Linked DNA regions of Homo sapiens: region 1 is linked to region 2. Evidence: promoter capture Hi-C in 16 types of primary human blood cells and fetal thymus (Javierre and others, 2016). All regions are on one chromosome and are shown on one strand. The core of a region is centred on a gene start or on the middle of the fragment in contact, and the rest is flanking DNA. Distances in the headings are between cores, read along the strand shown.

The links. Contacts are between HindIII fragments. The CHiCAGO score rates a contact against its expected background, and 5 or more counts as called.
Region 1: a fragment that was not itself captured here is called in contact with the fragment with the promoter of PCSK7 in region 2 in 1 of 17 cell types (monocytes); the score reaches 5.7 in monocytes.

Annotation. Positions count from the first base shown.
Region 1 is chr11:118,574,817-118,579,930 of GRCh38, forward strand. All of the region lies in intron 1 of ARCN1 (archain 1 coat protein complex I subunit delta), which reads left to right. It also overlaps a transcript of IFT46 not described here. Among named protein-coding and RNA genes, the nearest start is that of ARCN1, 5.0 kb to the left of the region's middle. The HindIII fragment of the contact is 2,250 bases long and covers 636-2,885 here.
Region 2 is chr11:117,230,158-117,234,824 of GRCh38, forward strand. PCSK7 (proprotein convertase subtilisin/kexin type 7) reads right to left here and starts at 1,916. Exons shown (of 17, transcript NM_004716.4): 1 at 1,870-1,916; 2 at 192-311. It overlaps RNF214 (ring finger protein 214), which reads left to right and starts at 2,514. Exons shown (of 15, transcript NM_207343.4): 1 at 2,514-2,569; 2 at 4,110-4,222. The coding sequence starts at 4,116. RefSeq lists enhancers at 605-844, 1,714-1,763 and silencers at 1,954-2,103, 2,314-2,653. The HindIII fragment of the contact is 17,537 bases long and covers 1-4,667 here.

The sequences.
Region 1 (5,114 bases), core at 511-3,010, 1.3 Mb after region 2:
TATTCACAGGCGCTATCATAGTGCACTGCGGCCTAGAACTCCTAGCCTCAAGCAATCCTCCCGCCTCCATATCCCAAGTAGCTGGGACTGTAGGCATGCGGGCCTTGATTTGATCTTTTTTTTGTATTCTGCAAATTAATGAGAACATGTTCTGACTTTTTTTCTTGTTTGTTTGGTTTTCGAGACGGATTCTCGCTCTGTCTCCAGGCTGGAGTGCAGTGGCACAATCTCAGCTCACTGCAACTTCTGCCTCCCGGGTTCAAGCTATCCTCCTGCCTCAGCCTCCTGAGTAGCTGGGACTGCAGGCGCCTGCCACCACGCCCAACTACTTTTTTGTATTTTTAGTAGATACGGGGTTTCACCATGTTAGCCAGGATAGTCTCGATCTCCTCACCTCGTGATCTGCCCGCCTCGGCCTCCCAAAGTGCTGGGATTATAGGTGTGAGCCATGGCGCCCGGCCCCTGTATTATTTATGTATCTTTTTAATTGTGTTTTGAGGGACAGCAAAGAAAGAAAATGATTCTCTTGAGTTTCCATTGATTTGCCATCTATTTATGTCTTCATATAGAAGTTCACTGCAGAAACTGATAACGGGTGTGTGTGTGTGTGTGTGTGTGTGTTTTAATTCTCTGCAAGCTTTTGTTTTAGAATAGAAATGTGATGGACTTAAAACCCTCACTGAGTAAATTACTTTTCAAGTTTTAGGTTTCGTATGTGGTCTACATTTTATTGTAATCTTCTCTCTGATTTTATCTATAATAGCTTCATATAAATAGAAAAGACAGAACAGTCCTCCCTGACAATTATAGAAACTAGCCTTAATATGACCATGAATTGTGTGTGCATGTATATGTGTATAAAATATTGCGGTGAATTACAAAGGAGAAGGTGACTATAATTCTGGAAGTAAGGGATCCTGAAGCATTTAGAGATTCAAGAAAGAACTTGACTTTTTTTGAGAGAGAGTTGTGCATATTTATCCTGAATTATTATACCACCTGTTATTCTTGTATCTCTCTTGCACACACAATTTGTTATGGTTAGACAATTTGCCTTCTGGCAGCCTAATGTTACTATAAAATATTGTTCCAAAGTGGTTAGAACTGGAGCAGTGGGTATAAAATGGAAGTATTGTACATTTTCTGTCACTGTAGTTGTTTTTTTTTTTTTCTGTTACTGTAGTTTTCAAATGCTTAGACTTACAGAACTTTAAAGACACAGAGCACTTTGGATTTCATGTAAACTAACCTCCTATGTTAGGGATATTTCAATAATCAATTAAGTGACTTATCCAAGGTCACATAATTAGTGGCAAAGGCAGAACAGAAACCTAATTCTCCAGGTTTTTTTACTTGAGGCACTTAACAATTCATGTAGTTAAGTCTGTGTAGGAGAGAGTTGTTATTTAGTCCAAAGATAGTGTACTCAAACCATGTAAGAATTATTAAAAGTTGTTTGGCAAAGCTCAACTTTATGAGGGAATTTTTTTTTTTTTTAACCGTCCTGGAGAGATCATCTAACTTATGGGCCCTCAGTTTTCACATCTGTAAGACAATCAAGGGCTCTTGCAAGTTCCTTTTAGATCTGGAATGTTTTTTCCAAAAATGTTAAAAAAAAAAAAAAAAAAAAAAACCAAAAACTTTGTAATCATATTTATTAATTCTTCCTCAGAGAAAATCAGATCAAATTTCAATAGGGAAAATTGTTAACTTACCTTTTAGTATATGCTATATTTTAATAATTGTTAAACCAGTAAACATTAATGTAAAGAGGTTTATTATTTCAAGAACTTTAAGAAGACAAATGTTAATTTAGGATAGGATAAATTTATCATGTTTAGAGGTGACCATACCTTCTAGCCATATTAGTAGCTGTAACAGAGAGACCTGTGTCAACTGCCTGGAACCTGTAATTTGTGGTGTCCTGGGTGTTCGGAGATTTATGCTATACTTAGTATGGGGAACTATGGTCCTATTTTGGAAGCCTTGTTTTGCTTGTATCTGGATAATGGAATGACTCAAAGAGAGACATATGATTTTACCCTACTTCTTTCTTCATCTTGACGTACTGAAAGCCTGGAATTCTGGCCAGGTGTGGCGGCTCATGCCTGTAATCCCAGCACTTTGGGAGGCTCAGGCGGGCAGATCACTTGAGGTTGGGAGTTTGAGACCAGCCTGGGCAACATGGCAAAACCCTGTCTCTACAGAAAAATACAAAAAATTAGCCAGGTGTGGTGGCCTGTGCCTGTAGTCCCAGATACTTGGGAGGCTGAGGTGGGAGAATCACCTGAGCCCAGAAGGTTGAGGCTGCACTGAGCCAAGATCACGCCACTGCACTACAGCTTGGGCAATAGAGCAAGACTCTGTTTCAAAACAAACAAATCCTGGAATTCATCAAAGCATGATCTAAATTCTGTTTCTTTCTTTCTTTCTTTCTTTTTTTTTTTTGAGGCAGAGTCTCACTTTGTAGCCCAGGCTGGAGTGAAGTGGTATGATCTTGGCTTACTGCAACTTCCGCCTCCCAGGTTCAAGCAATCCTCCCACCTCACTCTCCCCGTAGCTGGGACTACAGACGTGCACCACCAGACTTGGCTAATTTTTTGTATTTTTTGGTAGAGACAGGGTTTTCCCATGTTGACCAGGCTGGTCTCGAACTCCTGACCTCAGGTGATCTGCCTGCCCTGGCTCCCAAAGTGCTGGATTAAGGCATGAGCCACCGCTCCCGGCCTAAATGCTGTTTCTTCTATCAAGTCATCCCTGACTGTACCAGCTGGAAGTAATCTCTTCCTCTGAATTTCCACGCACTTTATCGGTTACTCTCTCATGTTACTTAACACATTCTGCCTCATATTACAGTTATTTGTGTTTGTGTCTTATCCCTATTAAGCTTCTTGTAGGCAGAATGCTAGCCTGTGTCATCTTAATTCTCAGAAAGCATGTTGTATGTATAGTAGATGTTCGATAAATAATTACTCAGTTAATTCTTATAATATCGCAAAAATGGAGATTACCAGTACCTATAATTAGTTTTTGAACATGCTCATCAGTAAAGTGGATGGGCCAGGTGCAGTGGCTCACTCCTGTAATCCCAACACTTTGGAGGCCAAGGCGCGCAGATGACTTGAGGCCAGGAGTTGGAGACCAGCCTGCCCAACATGGCAAAACCCTGTCTCTATTAAAAATAGAAAAATTAGCCAGGCTTGGTGGTGCTGGCCTGTGCCTGTAGTCCCAGTTACTCAGGAGGCTGAGGCATGAGAATTGCTTGAACTCAGGAGGCAGAGCTTGCAGTGAGCCAAGATGGCACCACTGCACTCCAGCCTGGACTACAGAGTGAGACACTCTCTCAAAAAATAAATAAATAAATAAATAAATAAATAAATAAATAAATAAATAAATAAAGTGGATAGTAACATACACCTTTTTGTTCCTTTTTCCCTCTCAAGTTGCTTTTGATGTTTTTACCTAAATTTTACTTGTATGGTATAGAGGTGTTTTTAACTCCAGTTGGAAACCTAAGAACTACCCTTGAGCCTGTAAACATTGTTTCTAACAGGTTTATTATTAGATATGGGGTTTCTATTAAATGCAGCATGTTTATATAGGTCTGAAGTTTTGGTCTGAGCTGTCCTTTCTTTAGGTGTTCATTTGATTTGTCTTATTTCTTCAAAACCTCATAAAATTCTAACATAGAGGACCATGACTTCCTAGAGCTATGACTCTCAACCTTTTAGGGATAGGAGGCTCTACAGGGATTACATTTACAATATGCTCCCATTTATTAATAATATTTCTCATCGCATGAGGGGATTTTCTATGGGCCATTTGAAATAACTTCTCTAGAGGATCGATGCATTCCCTGAAACTGTATGTAAAATTTTGGGGGGAGAGTCAATATTCATTATTTGAATATCAAAATATTGACAAAGGCAAAAATCCATTGCCTTGGCCGGATGCTGTGGCTCACACTTGTAATCCCAGCACTTTGGGAGGCTGAGGTGTGCGGATCACTTTAGCCCAGGAATTTGTAGCCTGGGCAACATGGCAAAACCCCGTCTCTCTTTTTTTTTTTTTTTTTTTTTTTTTTTTTTTTAATAAAAAAAGAAAAATCCATTACCTTGAAGTGGCATAAATTTTTTTCATGAGATGCATGTTTATTATTACTAATGGTGCTGTTTTACATCATGAATATATGTGCTACAAGTTGTATAGCACTTCTGAAGTACAGTTTCATTATAGTCATTTGGCCCTCATAATAGCTTGTAAGGTCATTAGATAATGCTGCATTTTATAGGAAAAGAAACGAGGTTAAGAGAGGTTGGGTAACTGAAGGTCAGGCAGATAGTAAATAGAAGAACAAAACTAGAAAATAGATTTTCTCACTCCCAGTCATTTAGTTTTTCTAATATCAGCTTGGTTCTTTGCAAATTTGGGACACTAGTTCTAAGTCTTTAGGAAAAGGAGAAACCAATGTGAAATGATCCCAAATATAAGGGAATTCCCTACTTTTCTGATGAAACTATTAAGAAGGAAAGCTTTTTGCCAATTGTATAAACTTTTTAAAATGCAGCCAAAATAGGCCGGGCGGTGGCTCATGCCTGTAATCTCAGCACTTTGGGAGGCCGAGGTGGGCAGATCACCCGAGGTCAGGCATTTGAGACCAGCCTGGCCAACCAACATGGTGAAACCCCATCTCTACTAGAAATACAAAAAAAAAAAAAAAAATTAGCCGGGCGTGGTGGCAGGCGCCTGTAATCCCAGCTACTCGGGAGGCTGAGACAGGAGAATCACTTGAACCTGGGAGGTGGAGGTTTCAGTGAGCGGAGATCTTGCCATTGCACTCCAGCCTGGGCAACAAGAGCAAAACTCCATCTTAAAAAAAAAAAAGGTAGCAAAAATAGTCAAATATGTTCTTAAAATAGTTAATAATTCACTTATATGTATATGTTTTAAATAAATAAAGTTTAATTTAGAAATAATTACTTTTTTCCATTTTCATATTAATAAAACAATTTTTTCTAGATTCTTTATGAACATCATGTCATCACTGGGGCCACTTTTTGAATCATCAGTTTGGTATTTAGCAGTTTTGAATCCATGTGTGATATATTGGCAGT
Region 2 (4,667 bases), core at 666-3,165:
AACCCCTGTTGCCACCCACAGGGCTCAAAGCACACATCGCTTCCACAAACTACTGGCTGCATCGTGACTGTTCTTTAGCAGAGACAACCCCTTCACCCCTACATTTAGAGGGGACATAAATCTTTCCCTAGCTGACTCCTCAGTCCAGTTGTCCTCAAGGCTAATTCCCCATAACAGGGCCCCGTGCCCACCTGGATTCTACATGAGGTTGAGCTCCTGGTCTGGCTAACCACGTCACACTCATGTTGTGCAAATGGAGAAAAGGCATCACTTTCACTGTGAGTAGTGTTGACTCAGCAAAGGCTACAGACCTGTGGGATCCAAGAACAGAAGAAATAATGTCCCACCAATCCCAGGGCAACAAGCTGAGGTTAGATAAACTCCAGGACCAGGGACCAAAGAAACTTCATTAATTGTCATTTCCAAAGATCTAAAATCGGTCATAGACTGGAGCAGAACTGGTACGGTGAGGCCAAATCAGTATAACACCCAAAAAACCCACTTCCTGTGCTATCGTGCCACCCTCTTTTCATTTTGTTCCCCAGAGGCCTAGCAAAAAACAGTTACCAAAATGCCTCTTGAAAGAGTAGGTAATAACGTCCTAGAAGTCCAGGTGGTAGCTAACTTCTTGATTTGTATATCCCAGAAGGATACCAGGGAAAGTGAAAGGAGGGAGGCGGCGGGGGCGAAACGGGGAAAGCCAGAGAGTGCAAACAAAACAGAACAGGCACCAAGGACAAGCGGGCAACCAGGAGAGAACGAATGATGAGAGAACCTCACTAAGCAGCTACTCCTGTACTGAGCTCAGGAGGCTGGCTTCAAGGTGAGGACTCAGACTCCAGACTGGGACTCCAATTGCCTGGGTTTGACAGAACCAGGGAATTGGTCTCAGGAGCCCTCAAAAAAAAAAAAAAAGAGCCAAGTTAGAACTGGGGGACAGACAAATGGGGTGGCAGGACATGTGTGTACCTATGGTGGCTGGGCTCCTTTAAAAGCCTTTGCTCTCCACTGGGTCCACCCTGGGGCAGGGCTTAGTACTCAGATACACACCCAAGCGGCTCTACCTCAAAGCATTCCAGAAAAATGGGAATTTTACTGAAAGGCTTCCTGGAAAGGAGAACTTATGCCACCTCTCCTTTACCTCTAAAAATCTTCATACTACATTTCTTCCTCTCGTTTTCTCTTAGGTTTCCAGGCATATTCCCTCTCAATCCCTCCCTGCCCCCGGGAGCCTCAATTCTCCCAAGATATTTAGGTGTCTTCCCCAGTCTGCATACTCTACTAAGTAAACAAACTAACAAACAAAACCCTTGTTAGCCAGACAGTGGCCCCGCTAGGCAGACTCCTTCAGACTCAGTAGATCCCACCACAGATGTCAGGAAGAAAGAGAAGCAGGAGCTCCTTCTGTCTACTAGTGGCAAAGCAGCATTTTTATCCCCCAGGCTTCTGGGAAAGGAACCTTAAATGCCTTCTGAAAGCAGGTCTCAACCTCTCCCAACGGCTAGGCCTCCCTTTACAGCTCTTAATTGACAAGGAAGAAGAGAATGGGCAGCCTGGAGTCCAAGATCCTGCTCCCAAGCTACTGTCCTCGCTGTTCCACACCCGGCTCCTAGAAGCCAGCTTGGGTACCGGGTCAGTTTCCCGATTCTCCCTCCGTCGGCCTCGATCGCTCCGTGCAATGTGCCCCTCTCCTCATTAGCACCCACATTATCCAGGAATTCTGGGCCCTGGGGCCCCATCTCCTTGGTCCCCCACGCCAGGACCTCAGGCACCCTCTGTGCAGCTCCCTCATCCTCAGACGCCGGCTTCCCCCACTTCTGGGGCCCCCTGACCACCCAGGTCCAGCCCCACACCTAGTTCCCAACTCACCGGCCCCGCCGCAGCTGCCGCCGCCTCCCTGCGGAAACTCGCGGCTTCCCGGGAGCCGGAGGAGCAGTGACAGCAGCATCACTTCCGCCCGCGGCGCAGCCAATCAGCGCGGCGCCTGCGGCCCGGCGACCCCCGCGGGCCACAGCAACCGGCGCCCGGGGTCCGGCTCCCGCGGGCGGCCTACGCAGGCAGGGGCCGTGCGGGCGCTGGGGGCTGAACCCGCGGGCTCCGCCTCCCCGAGTCCTCGGGGCATCTTCCACATGGTCCCTCTTCAGAAGGCTCTCCTTCATGGCGTCCTCTGTAAAGGGCATTTCGGTTCCGACCTTTAAAAGCCACTCGTTGCTCTTCTCCTTCTGACCGCCATGGCCCCGACTGTCCCTGTAATCTTCCCAGAGGGGATCCTGCCCACCCAGGTCGCCTTCCTTCTCGCAGTCGGCTCTCCCTTCTTCCCCGCGCCCCGGGAGAGTCCACTTGTATCTCAGGGGTCTCCCGCAGCATCCCCGTGCCCCGGCGGCGCCAGCTGTCGCCGCCAGAGGGCGCCGTCGGGGGCGGCGCGGCGCCACCGCGGCCTCTCCTCTCGCGGCCGGAGCCTCGCCCCCTCCGCTCGTGCCGCCGGAAGTGGGAGGTGCCGCGCGCGGGCCGGCGCTCGACCCCTCCCCCCGTGGCTCGGCCGCCCCCTCCCCCCGCTCCGCCCGCTCAGGTGCGTCCCGTCCCTCCCCCACTTTCCTCCCGGGGGCGCGGCGCGGGAGGTGTGTGCGGGGCGAGCGTGGGTGGGGGTTGCGGGGCGAGGGCCGGGCATGGGGGTCGGGTGGGGGGCGTGGAGGGTGCTGTGAGAACCGAGGCGGGGGTCCCGGCCTAGAAGTGGGACGGGGGGGTGGCTGGCAGCGGGGTGGGGGGACCGAGGGGAAGGGGTGGAGGGGGGTCTGGTCCGAGCCAGCGGCCAGCCTAGCAGTCCCCTGTGGGGGGTGGCCAAGGCCACCCAGCGCCGCTTCCCCCCATTGTCCCCTTCCCGTCTGTCCCCTGTTCTCGCCCGAGGACCCGTGGCTCCGGCGCCCCTGCTTCGCTGGTGGTCGCCCCGGGTTGCGGAGTTCTTTTTGGTACACTCGACCCTCCAGCCAGCTGTTCCTACCCGCGCCACGGGCTCTCTAGCCACGGAGTTGCATGCATGGCCCTTGTCCTGGGGTTTCGTTCACCGGGCGCAGAGGACCCCCCAGCCCTGGGCTATGTTGGAGACGGGATGTTTGCACCTGAGGGAGCAGCAATGGCGGTTTGGGCCCATTTTCTCCCAGGAGCTTTGTATAATGAGGGAAACTGAGGCACAGAGGGTCTGTGGGCTGTGACTGAGGTGTTGACACAGCCCCATCTACCTATCTGCCCTATGCGCTCTTCAGTGTTCCGGGGGGGAATACGTGTGATGCTGTTAAAATAAAAGCAAGAATGCAAACTAACCCGATGTTCATCCCCACCTCCCAAGTATTTTGATTTTCTTTTCTCCTCATAAGGTCATAAGTTTGCTCTGCGGCATAAAAGATGACCTTTTGATTTTTAAAAAAGGCGTCCGTCCCAGTTCCCTTACTTGTGTTACCATGTTTTTTACCTTGACTTTTTCACGCTAGAGAACCCAGGATTCTTTTTTGCACCACTAGTCACTCTGAAGAGTCTGTTCTTTGCTCAGTTAGTGGGTATCAGGCCTTTCCCATCTGTGGGGAGCACGCTGACAGTAAAATATGCACCCTGGATTGCCCAGTATTGCATTACTTGTTGACTTACAGGCAGACACCTCCAAAAACTTCCCTTAAATTAATGGAGAATGCTTTGAATGTAACAGCCATAAAGTGATTTAAAAACATGAGATCTGATTGATACTAGGCCGAAAAGTACGTCTTTTATTAAAAATGATAGCAGACAAGGTAGGCCTGGGACCACTTGGAAGATCCTGGCAGACTAAGATGTATTGTTTGAAATGACTACATTTCTGCCAAAAGTGAAAATAAGATCTTTGCACAGACTCCTAGATATTTATGTAAATACAGTGACTCCTGAGGATTGCTGCCCACTAGGACACTAGGACTTTGCATACAATGTCTCTTTTAGTACTCTTAAGTATTTTCTCCCGGAGCCCAGGTTTTTGTGTTTCTTTACTGCGACAGCTCTGTTGTGTGGACATTCTGAGGGGGGAGAGATACATTTGTTTTAAACTTTGGAAACTTGTAGCCTGTAATTTGTTTCTGAATGTACAGAGCATAATGGCAGCGTCTGAGGTTGCTGGTGTTGTGGCCAATGCCCCCAGTCCTCCGGAATCTTCTAGTTTATGTGCTTCCAAATCAGACGAAGGTCTCCCAGATGGTCTAAGGTAATGTGTGGACTCCTGACTGGGAAGATTCATTTGGGTAAAGGGTTTTTGAGATGGTCTTGTGTAGCTGGTCTTTCTTTTTGGCTCTGATGGCACTGCACTAGCTTTTTAAAGGTACAGGACTGTCTGATCTATCTTTGTATTTCTGGTATCCAACACAGCACCTGATACTCAGCAGGCATGCTAAATGTTTGGGGAATAAATAGAATAGAATACATGGGGTCAAACTCATTAAAAAATGCAAACATTTTCCAGCCCTTTCCTACGTGGACTGTATGTTCATTTAACCATATGTTTATATGTTATATATGAGAAATGTTATATCAGTATGTGTACATGGATATCTAAATATGTATACATACAGATACACAATTACCCAAACTTATATCTCATAGTAGCTAATATGATACATTGTTATGTACAGTGTTGAACTAAATTAGCTATA